2 separate regions of the Homo sapiens genome follow, and region 2 is linked to region 1. Evidence: promoter capture Hi-C in human tissues and cell types (Jung and others, 2019). All regions are on one chromosome and are shown on one strand. Each heading gives the region's core, a stretch centred on a gene start or on the middle of the fragment in contact. The rest is flanking DNA. Distances are from core to core; before and after follow the strand shown. Region 1 holds the start of GRIN2C (glutamate ionotropic receptor NMDA type subunit 2C). Region 2 overlaps ATP5PD (ATP synthase peripheral stalk subunit d).

What was found. Contacts are between HindIII fragments. The study calls those that stand out against the background at their distance.
Region 2: a contact is called between a fragment that was not itself captured here and the fragment with the promoter of GRIN2C in region 1, in 2 of the 25 tissues and cell types used here (lymphoblastoid cells and thymus).

What each region holds. Positions count from the first base shown.
Region 1 is chr17:74,857,820-74,863,307 of GRCh38, reverse strand. GRIN2C (glutamate ionotropic receptor NMDA type subunit 2C) reads left to right here and starts at 3,423. Exons shown (of 13, transcript NM_000835.6): 1 at 3,423-3,564. FDXR (ferredoxin reductase) reads left to right here. Exons shown (of 12, transcript NM_024417.5): 11 at 62-232; 12 at 361-811. The coding sequence ends at 491. RefSeq lists an enhancer at 1,898-2,596. The HindIII fragment of the contact is 10,960 bases long and covers 1-5,488 here.
Region 2 is chr17:75,038,145-75,043,406 of GRCh38, reverse strand. It overlaps ATP5PD (ATP synthase peripheral stalk subunit d), which reads left to right. Exons shown (of 6, transcript NM_006356.3): 2 at 748-878; 3 at 1,130-1,226; 4 at 3,244-3,315; 5 at 4,136-4,198; 6 at 4,344-4,544. The coding sequence starts at 757. The coding sequence ends at 4,475. It also overlaps a transcript of KCTD2 not described here and the pseudogene RN7SL573P. Among named protein-coding and RNA genes, the nearest start is that of TRR-TCG3-1, 5.7 kb to the right of the region's middle. RefSeq lists an enhancer at 1,570-2,140. The HindIII fragment of the contact is 3,720 bases long and covers 1-3,690 here.

The DNA of each region.
Region 1 (5,488 bases), core at 2,174-4,673:
AGGATGGCCAGGGTGGTATCCAGCCACCTCCCTCCCTTCCCCTTTTGTTACCCCCTCTCAGGCCTCTACTGCAGCGGCTGGGTGAAGAGAGGACCTACAGGTGTCATAGCCACAACCATGACTGACAGCTTCCTCACCGGCCAGATGCTGCTGCAGGACCTGAAGGCTGGGTTGCTCCCCTCTGGCCCCAGGCCTGGCTACGCAGCCATCCAGGCCCTGCTCAGCAGCCGAGGTCTGGGCCCCGATGCTGAGGTCCTGGGAGGTGGGGTGGGTGGTCCTTCTCTGGGCCTCACTCTTTGGGAGGGGGCTGTTCTGGGAGGGGTGAAGGAGGAGGTGTTGACAATCTCCCCTCTGCTTCAGGGGTCCGGCCAGTCTCTTTCTCAGACTGGGAGAAGCTGGATGCCGAGGAGGTGGCCCGGGGCCAGGGCACGGGGAAGCCCAGGGAGAAGCTGGTGGATCCTCAGGAGATGCTGCGCCTCCTGGGCCACTGAGCCCAGCCCCAGCCCCGGCCCCCAGCAGGGAAGGGATGAGTGTTGGGAGGGGAAGGGCTGGGTCCGTCTGAGTGGGACTTTGCACCTCTGCTGATCCCGGCCGGCCCTGGCTTGGAGGCTTGGCTGCTCTTCCAGCGTCTCTCCTCCCTCCTGGGGAAGGTCGCCCTTGCGCGCAAGGTTTTAGCTTTCAGCAACTGAGGTAACCTTAGGGACAGGTGGAGGTGTGGGCCGATCTAACCCCTTACCCATCTCTCTACTGCTGGACTGTGGAGGGTCACCAGGTTGGGAACATGCTGGAAATAAAACAGCTGCAACCAAGAGCCATGGTTGATGGGGGACTTTTTTTGGAAGGGTTGGGGTCGGGGGTCACCTTCTGGCCGTAGCTCCCCTACCATCACCAGGTGGCGCTGCAGAGACGGCTCCCTGCTCAGGGGCCTCATTGGGGGCTTGATGGGGCTCGGCAGCCAGGCCTGGCATAGCCACCCTTCCTTTCTCCGCTCGGCCCTGCTGTGGCTGCGGGTTGCCTGTCTTCTGTCCACACTAGGGCTGCCCGGGACCGGGACCGGGACCACCCCTCCCTGGGGAGCCCTCAGTACAATCAAAACAGAAAAGAAATGGGAGCGGGGGACTGAGAAGCAGCTTGTCCCCTGTACCTCTGGGTGCCCCAGGCGAGTCTAGCCTGGGGCCCATTCTTTGGCTCTCAAAGCCTTCCTGCTTCCGTTTCCAGTCAGACACACTGGCCTTTAAAAATAGTGCCTCAGTCTCCCTAGGGCTTTGCAGTGTCCAGAGAGTGGTCACTCCCTTTTATGGCAGCCCTCAAGATGCTGCCTCGCTGTATAACCTGAGGGGTCCTCGAAATTGGCCCAAGGTCACACACTCGTGAGCTGCGGGCTCAAACCCAGGCTCCGGGCAGGCTGGTGTGTCCTCCGAGGCGCACTTGCCCCGAGTGTCAGGTCTGGGGACGCGGTTCCGGAGAGGGGAGAGGGGCCCGGGAATGCGGCGGGAGGGGCCTCGAGGGGCAGCGGGCCGGGCCGGGCCGGGGCGGAGGTGGCGGGCCCCGGCGGGGCGGGCCCTCGCGGGCGGCGGTGAGAGCTCCCGCACAGTCGGCTGCGAGCTCTGGGAGCAGGAGGCGCGGTGCGCAGCCCAGCCCGGGACGGAGCCGGGCGCCGTGCGAGCTTCGGGAGGGTCGCGGGGCGCAGGGGCGGGTCGGGGCCAGCGGACCAGGCCGCGCCACCCGCCCCCGCCCCCGCCCCGCCGCGCCCGGGCTCCGGCGCCCGCGGAGCTGAGACTGAGCGCGCCAGCCCTCCGGGGCCGAGGCTCTGGGACAGACACCGCGAGGGAGGCGGCCGGCGCGGGCTCTCGTCGCGGGCGCAGCGCCCCTTCCCCTCGGTAAGTGGCGAGCGGCGGGCGAGGGGCACCAACTTCGCCGCCAACTTGGGGCTGGGTTCCCGCGGCGCGCGAGCAAGGACGGCGGAGACAGAGGCGGGACACCCGGGGGGTTGGACCCACGCAGGACTCTCGGGGCTCAAGGAGGGGGCGGCTGGAGGACCCGGACCCTCAAGAACCTGGCCTTGGGTTTTGACCCGGGCGGCCGGAGAGAAGGCGAAGAAGAGGCCGAGCAGACAGGCGCGCGGCGGACGCGAGAGAAGGACGCGGGCGAAGCGTCCAAGACGTTCGTCCCCAGGGTCGCCGAGCCCTCCTCCTCCTTCGCTTGGCGCGGCAGCACCGCGGGACCAGGGGAGTCTGGGCTGCCGCGGACCCAAACTGTTGCTGCTGGAAGCCGCCGGGGCGGAGAGCGGGGAACAGGGCCGGGAGTGGGGGCCGGGGCTGGGATCCACCAGAGCGAGGGGTTGGAAAGGAGTCGAGAAGGTGAAAGGGGGCTGTGCGGCTCCCCAGCCCAGTGCCCCAGTTTCCCTAGGTCTGCTGGGCACCTGCTGCGCACTCGCCTCGGCGCCCAGACCCCTTCCCCCGCCGCGAGTCCCGCTTCTTCCCCTTCCAGCTCTGCCCCATCTCCTTTGCCCCAGCCTAGCTCTCTCCTTCCTGCGACCTGGGAGAATCGGAGTGGGCTTCCAGAGTAGTGGCATCTTGCAGATGCTGGCCCGTGCCCGGCTCCCGGGCTTCCAGAGCGCAAAGGGAAGGGTAGGCAGAGAGGGCACTGGGCGAGCAAGACCTGGCGCTGGGCCCTGGCTGCGCACCAGCCGCCTGCGCCGGTCTCTGGGGGCTTCGCCCAGGATCCCCGACGGCGGGGAGGGGAAGCCCCGAGTCTCCTGTTTCCTGCCTACGCGGGCAGGGCGGGGACACGCGGAGCAAAGGCACCCGGCAACCTGAACCCCCAGGTGCGTCCCGCGACCCTGCAAGGAGCTGCTGGGTGAGCAAGACGGGAATTCCCGCCAGGCCCTGATGCCCACCCCATTCGTCCACTCGGTTTCCCAGCCCTGGTCGTCCAAGGGGACTTCTGGCTCGGTCCCCCAGCCCTCGGATGGTGGCGTTATCTTAGTTCAGTCCCTGACCCCGGGCCACAGGAAAATCGAGGAAAGACACTTATTTGGGGAGGGTACCATTCCGCTGGCTGTATTTCAGAGCCCGTCCAGGTCTTGGCGGTGCTAGTGACTTTGAGCCTGTTTCTAAACTCCCGAAGAATAAGAGCGTGCCAGGGGCAGGTAGGCAGGTCCGGGACACCTGGGTTCGCCCAGGGCCCCCGGGCGGGCCTGGGATGGTACTGGGGCCGCCTGCCAGGCTGGCTTGGTCCCCCCACTGCGGGACTCGGGGTCACGACCCAGCTTGGGGGAGTGGGGGTGGGGGCCCCGGAGCCGCGGACGCCGGCGGGGGGCAGCGTGGGGCGGGGGGCGCCGGGTGCGTGGTGCTCAGCTTGGCCGCCAGGAGGCGTGGCGCGGGTCCCCGCCCGGAGCCGCCGCCGCCGCCGCCGCCGCCGCATCGCGAGTGTCCTTGAGCCGCGGGTGACGGTGGCTCTCGCTGCTCGCGCCCCCTCCTCCCGCGGGGGGAGCCTGATGCCACGTTCCCTATGAATTATTTATCGCCGGCCTAAAAATACCCCGAACTTCACAGCCCGAGTGTAAGAGATTGCTGCGGAGGGGAGGGGGCGGGGCGTCCCGGTGGCCAGGGGGAGTCCGGGCGGGGTCCGCGGAGACGGGGGCCGTAGCCTTGGAGGAGCAAGAACTCCGTGCCCCCAGCAGTGGGGCAAGCTAGAACGGCGGTCCTCTCCCCTGGCGCCTGGGTTCGGGTTTTGGCTGGGCAAAAGGGAGGGAGGGAAACCCGACGGCAAAGGAGGGGCGGCTCACCGGAAGGGCAGGGGGTCCGGGGGTTCTGCTGGTGGGTGGGGAGGACTCCTGCGACAGAGTTTCCTAGCCTGGGAGAGGGAGAGCCATCGGTATCTCAGATGTGAGCGGGTATGAGTGCGGGAGTGTGCATGTGTGTGCAGGTCCGTGCCAGGGGGTCTGGCTGAGCTGTGAGGACCCGGGAAGGAGAAGGCCCCCAGCCTGGGAAGGTGCTCAGACCCTTCTAGATGCTGCTGTGTCCTGCAGGACTGACCACTGCCATCCTCTCTGGGGCTCTTTGGGGATCTCTGTGTTTGTCAAACATTAGTTTAAGGGCTGTTTGTGGAAGGGGTGAGACCCTGAGTGGGTGGGTGGGCAGAGGTCTCTGAGACAATGTGTCTGCCCTCAAGGAGCCCGCAGTCCAGTGTGGGGCAGGGTGTTAATGAGTGCACACACACCTGCCGCAGGGCAGAATGGAGGGGTGGAGGGGACCACTACACAGAGCTCCCCACCCAGGAGGGGAAGCCAGGGCAGGGGGAAGAAGGGCAGGTGCCCCAGCCTGGCCGCAGTCCCTGCGCCTAGAGCCTGAGGCATCAAGGCAGGTGCCTGTGGGAGAGGGATTTCAGCTGGGCCCTGAAGGAGAGTAGACTTCTGTTGGGATGAGGACATTCCAGCCTGGGGGATGCTGGAACGAGGCCTGGAGATGAGGGCAGAATGGGGCTGTTTGGCCAGCAGACTGGCAGAGCTGTGGGTTCCAGGGATGGGAGGACGGTTGGTTGCGGTCAGGGTGCAGAGGGCTCTGTCTATGGGACTAAGCTGTCTGGACTTCATTTGTGGGCACCAGGGTGTAGCTGTCCTGTGTGAGGAGGGAGCAGTGGCTGGAGGAAGGCTTCAGCAGTGCAGTGGGGCTGGCGGGGGTGGGTAGGTGGGAGGTGGGGAGGGGGAGGCAAGGGAGGAGATTGTGGCGGGGGAAAGTGGAGTTTGTCCCTCCTACCTCTGTAGGGTGGCTGGGTTAGACGGGGTGATGAGACAGAATTCGGAAGCTCCTTGAGTCTGCCCCTTGCTATTTGGAGCCCAGGGACTTACCTAGTTTTGGCCCCTGGCTCTGGAGGTATTCTGGGATCCCTCCCCCATTTTAGGCCCCTTGATTAGAGGTACAACCTGCCTCAACTCCCCCACCCCCCGACCCCCAACCCCCAACCCAGCAGGACACCTTCCCTTTGGAGAGAGTCTCTGGTGTCCCCAGCCCATGAGGATGTCTTCCTATTGGAGAGAGTGGGAATGAGAACATTTTCAGCTATTACCAGACCCTTATTCCTTCATGTGAATGAGCTCTAGGTCCTTGGCTAAGAAAAGGTCTTGACTGGGGAGGGTGGAAGCTTGAGGGGAGTAGGGAGTTGGAAAGAGAAATACATTTAGAAAAAGGAGGTTGGAGATGCTAATGGCAGACTGCTTATTCTGCCCCTTTGCAGTTGAGGGAGAGCCTGGGCCCTTCATCCAGGGTCACACTGTCCAAAGAAATAAAATGGGAGCCACAAGTACAATTTAAAATTTTCTAGTAACCACATTAAAACAAATAGAAACAGGTGACGTTAATTTTAATAGTATATTTTCTTTGACTAAACATACCCCAAATGTTATTATTTCAACATGTAATCAAGATACAAGTGTTTACGAGATTTTTTACATTCTTTTTCCCTGTTGTCTTCAATGTGCAGTGTG
Region 2 (5,262 bases), core at 581-3,080, 180 kb before region 1:
CTCCTGACCTCAAGTGATCCACCCACCTCAGCCTCCCAAAGTGCTGGGATTACAGAAATGAGCCACTGCGCCCGGCCAAGAGAGCTGGGCTTTTAAGGCTAAATAGGAGTTGGGAGAGAATGTATTTGTATGCCACATTGCACACTTTGAATTTGAAAAGCTACACTGTCCTTTCCTTTTCTTTTTGAGACGGACTCTTGCTGTGTTGCCCAGGCTAGGGTGCACTGATGCCATCTCAGCTCATTACAACCTCTGCCTCCTGGGTTCAAGTGATTCTTATGCCTCAGCCTCTGGAGTAGCTGGGATTATGGCGCGGGCCACCACGGCTGGCTAATTATTGTATTTTTAATAGAGATGGGGTTTTGCCATGTTGGCCATGCTGGTCTCGAACTCCTGACCTCAGGTGATCCAACCGTCTTGGCCTCCCAAAGTGCTGGGATTACAGGCGTGAGCCCACTGCGCCTGGCCGCACACCTTGAATTACCTTGAATTTGAAAAGCTACACTGTCTTTTTTTCTTTTTTTTTGAGTTGGAGTCTTGCTGTGTCTCCCAGGCTGGAGTGCAGTGATGCAGTCTCGACTCACTGCAACCTCCACCTCCTGGGTTCAAGTGATTCTTGTGAAGACTTGCATGTTTCTAAGATTTAAAGGATTCTCTCTAAGAGCTCTTATTTTGTTATTTATCATTTTTCCCAACTGAAAATTCACCTCATAAAAAAGCCTTGTTTTTATTTGACTTATTTTTCAGGATCCCAAAATGGCTGGGCGAAAACTTGCTCTAAAAACCATTGACTGGGTAGCTTTTGCAGAGATCATACCCCAGAACCAAAAGGCCATTGCTAGTTCCCTGAAATCCTGGAATGAGACCCTCACCTCCAGGTCAGTATGTTTCTGAGAGGGAACCCCATACTTGCCACTGAATCTAGAAACAAAACAGTATTAAGGAATTACATATGAATTCTTGATGCCCTTATGACAACATATAAAGAAATCCTTGCATTTTCATGATGATCTTAGGAGAGGAAAGTGTGGTGACCCTCCAGGCCATAGGAAGAAGGGATAGGAAAATTACCATGTGAATTTTCTACTGCTTATGAACAATCCTAACTTTTGCCTTTCCTTGTGGGCAGGTTGGCTGCTTTACCTGAGAATCCACCAGCTATCGACTGGGCTTACTACAAGGCCAATGTGGCCAAGGCTGGCTTGGTGGATGACTTTGAGAAGAAGGTGAGACTTCACACCTCTAAAGCACTGAGCTTGTAACATGCCTGTGGGTAGGGAGCAGGAACAGGGATAATTACATACACAGCATGACAGCCAGATCCCTAAGGAAGCTTAGGAAGGATGCGTATGGCCAAAGGCCTTGTGGTCGATTGAACTGTAAATAGGTGCAGGAATTTAGGCTCTGTTCATTCAGCAGTAGAGTGTAGCCTTAATCTGGGAGCCAGAGGGCTTTCTGATCAGCACAGGAGTTTTGACCTGCTCTGTTTCTGACCTGGGCCGGTTCACCCCTTCTTAGGCAACCTGGTGGTCCCCCGCTCCTGGGAGGTCACCATATTGATGCTGAACTTGGTGAAGACACCCGATCGGCATAACGCGCTACAGCCCAGAACTCTTGGGCTCAAGCAATCCACGTGCCTCAGCCAGGCATGCGCCACCACGCCCCAGGGGGCTTTCAAGTTAAATGTTTGCCCACCTCCTGGGTTCCTTTTAGCTTCCTTCCTGTCTCCCTTTGGAACAAACTGACTTTTTTTCTACTCTTTTCCTGTCCTTTTTCTTTTGAGACGGAGTTTTGCTCTGTCACCCAGGGTGGAGTGCAGTGGCGCAATCTCAGCTTACTGCAGCCTCTGCCTCCCAAGCTCAAGCCATCCTTCTGTCTTAGCCTCCTGAGTAGCTGGGACTACAGGTGCATGCCACCACCACACCTGATAAATTTTCGTTTTGTTTTTTTTTTTTTTTTGGTAGAGACAGGTTTTTGTCATATTGCTCAGGCTGGTCTCAAACTCTGGGCTCAGGCAATCCACCTCTCTGCTCTTCTTTTTTTTTTTTTTTTGAGTTGGAGTCTCACTCTGTCACTCAGGTTGGAGTGCAGTGGCGCCATCTCAGCTCACTGCAACCTCTTTCTCCCGGGCTCAAGCCTTCCTCCCACCTCATCCCCCCGAGTAACTGGGACCACAGCACCACCATGCCTGGCTAATTTTTTGTATTTTTGGTAGAGACGGGGTTTCGCCATGTTGCCCAGACTGGTCTCGAACTCCTGAGCTCAGGTGATCCACCCTCCTTGGCCTCCCAAAGTGCTGGGAGTACAGGTGTGAGCCACCATGCCCAGCCTCTGCTTTTTTTAACTGTCCCTTATAGCTGTAATTTCTCATCCATCTATCCTCCTCTGATATTTACACAAGTCTCAATATCCAGAGTTCATTTGCTTATTCATTCAAAGATGTGTATGGAGGGCCTACTCTGTGCCAGGTAGTGTTAAGTGCTGGAGCCATAACACTAAGCAGTCTTTTTTTTTTTTTTTTGAGACGGAGTCTTGCTCTGTCGCCCAGGCTGGAGTGCAGTGGGGCCATCTCAGCTCACTGCAATCTCCGCCTCCCAGGTTCAAGCAGTTCTCTTGCCTCAGCCTCCCATGTAGCTGGGACTACAGGTGCTGGCCACCTTGCACAGCTAATTTTTGTATTTTTAGTAGAGACGGGGTTTCACCATGTTGGTCAGGCTGGTCTCGAACTCCCGACCTTAGGTGATCCGCCCGCCTCAGCCTCCCAAAGTGCTGGGATTACAGGCATGAGCCACCGCACCCGGCTAACACTAAGCAGTCTTCTAAGGAGACCATTCATTACGCAGTGCTCCTTCCACCAGTCAGCTCCCTAGGGTTCCATGCAGAAGAGAAATCAGAATTTCTTTACAATTCAAGGTGCTAAGAGGCCATTTTTTGGTCATCAAGTCCAGCTGTCCTTTTCAGATGAAGAAAATGAAGCTTATCATCATAAAGAATTGTCCAGGGTTCCGAGTTAGTGATAGGGCTGAGAAGACCCTTGAGCTCCTGTTCCCAGTCTAATATTCTTTCTACTCCAGTATTGAGATGCGTATTCGTTTCCGCTTGGGACACAGAATGTCTTTCAGTATGACCTTTAAGGATTCGTAGCTTCCAGCCCTTTGAGCTCCTGGGTGTATTGGCGACGACTCACTGTCCTTGTGTTTGTAGTTTAATGCGCTGAAGGTTCCCGTGCCCTTGTGTTTGTAGTTTAATGCGCTGAAGGTTCCCGTGCCAGAGGATAAATATACTGCCCAGGTGGATGCCGAAGAAAAAGAAGATGTAAGTAGTTGAGGCTCCTGCTTATTCTAAAATTCTCTTGATCTTGACAGCTCTCTATTATAGCTAAGTTAAGTTAGAGTGAATTAAATGGAAGAGTTAACAGCCATATAAAGGAATGACTTGTCAATAAATGCAACAACATGGACGAATTTCAAAATAATTATGCGGAGTGAAAGAAGCCAACAAGAAAAAGAAGAGTATAGCATATGATTCCATCTTTGTAAGACTCTAGAAAATGTAGTTTGTCTACAGTGGCTGCCTGGGGATGGTTGAGAGGGGACTGCTGGTTTCACAGGTGGATACCTATATCAAAACTTATCAAATGGTGTTCTTTAAATATGTGCATTTTATCATATTTCAGATATACCTCAACAAAGCTGTTAGAAACAAGGAGTTGGAATTAGAAAAATTACCCAAGTAGTATTCAAATACCTAATTATTTGCTTGAAAGCACTGAAGGCCAACTATGGAACTCAGTGGCTCCACCAGAGAGAAGTCTGGCTAGGTGCTCAGGTGGCGTGTCCTGACCATTCAGTGGCTGAGCCCTGTGAAAACAGGCATTCTGTAGGTCTTCGGATGAGGAACTTGCAGAAGCAGCCGGGTGCTGCCATCCTAAGCTGGTTTTCCATATGGGCTTCTCTGTGAGTGTTAAGAAAAGCTGTGGTTTGCCTGTCAGAGTGAGCGCCCCCACTCAGGGTAACCACAGTTTCTCCATAGAGCAATAGGACAGCAGGAGTGGGCTGGGACGACTCCTACCTTAGCAGCTGCTGGGGTAGAATGCAGCCTGGTTTCAGAACTGAATTTCTCTTTCTTCTTAAAGGTGAAATCTTGTGCTGAGTGGGTGTCTCTCTCAAAGGCCAGGATTGTAGAATATGAGAAAGAGGTAAGGATGATGGGTAGCCGTTGCCTATAATATGGGTTCTCTCTTTCATGACCACACATCTTTCACCTGGTGGCAGGAACCTGCCTTGGATATTCTGCTTTCCGTCTCTGTTTACATTAACTAAACACATTCCCCCTCTTTCCAGATGGAGAAGATGAAGAACTTAATTCCATTTGATCAGATGACCATTGAGGACTTGAATGAAGCTTTCCCAGAAACCAAATTAGACAAGAAAAAGTATCCCTATTGGCCTCACCAACCAATTGAGAATTTATAAAATTGAGTCCAGGAGGAAGCTCTGGCCCTTGTATTACACATTCTGGACATTAAAAATAATAATTATACAGTTCTGGGTGTGCTTCTTCTCTGTGGTTGAGATAATTAAGCCTCTCTTCTGAGCTGGCCTCACTGGCAGCGGGGTTTTTGTTTAAATGGAAAGGTGAGCCTCGACAGGTTTGTTGGGCTGGTTGTCTGACGGGCTGTGTAGGCGCCACTTACTGAGGCCCCAGGACTGCTGAAATGGCAACAAATAACACTAGGGGCTATGGCAGTGTATTTCACTGTGATGTAGTAAAGAATTGTTATCTGCTGATTCTCTTCAACTTCCTCTTTGGTTTCAAACCCCTGGTTCCAAGGGAGTGCTCCTGCTTGTCCATTAGTAAGTCACAAGAACAGCTGGTCCAAATGGCTAGGTGTAACAGCAGGGATTTACTTCTCTGTGCTTCAGCTTTTGAGCACAAAAGTGGTATTAGAAAAGGAAACTTTGGGCTGGGCATGGTGGCTCACGCCTGTAATCCCAGCATTTTGGGAGGCCCAGGCGGGTGGATCACCTGAGGTCAGGAGTTTGAGACCAGCCTGGCCAAGATGGTGAAACCCCATCTCTACTAAAAATGCAGAAATTAGCCAGGCGTGGTGGTGGGGCGGGGGGCGCCTGTAATCCCAGCTACTTGGGAGGCTGAGGCATCTTGGCCTCAGCTTGAGGCTTGATTGAACCTGGGAGGCAGAGGTTGCAGTGAGCCAAGATCGTGCCACTGCACTCCAGCCTGAGTGACAGAGCGAGACTT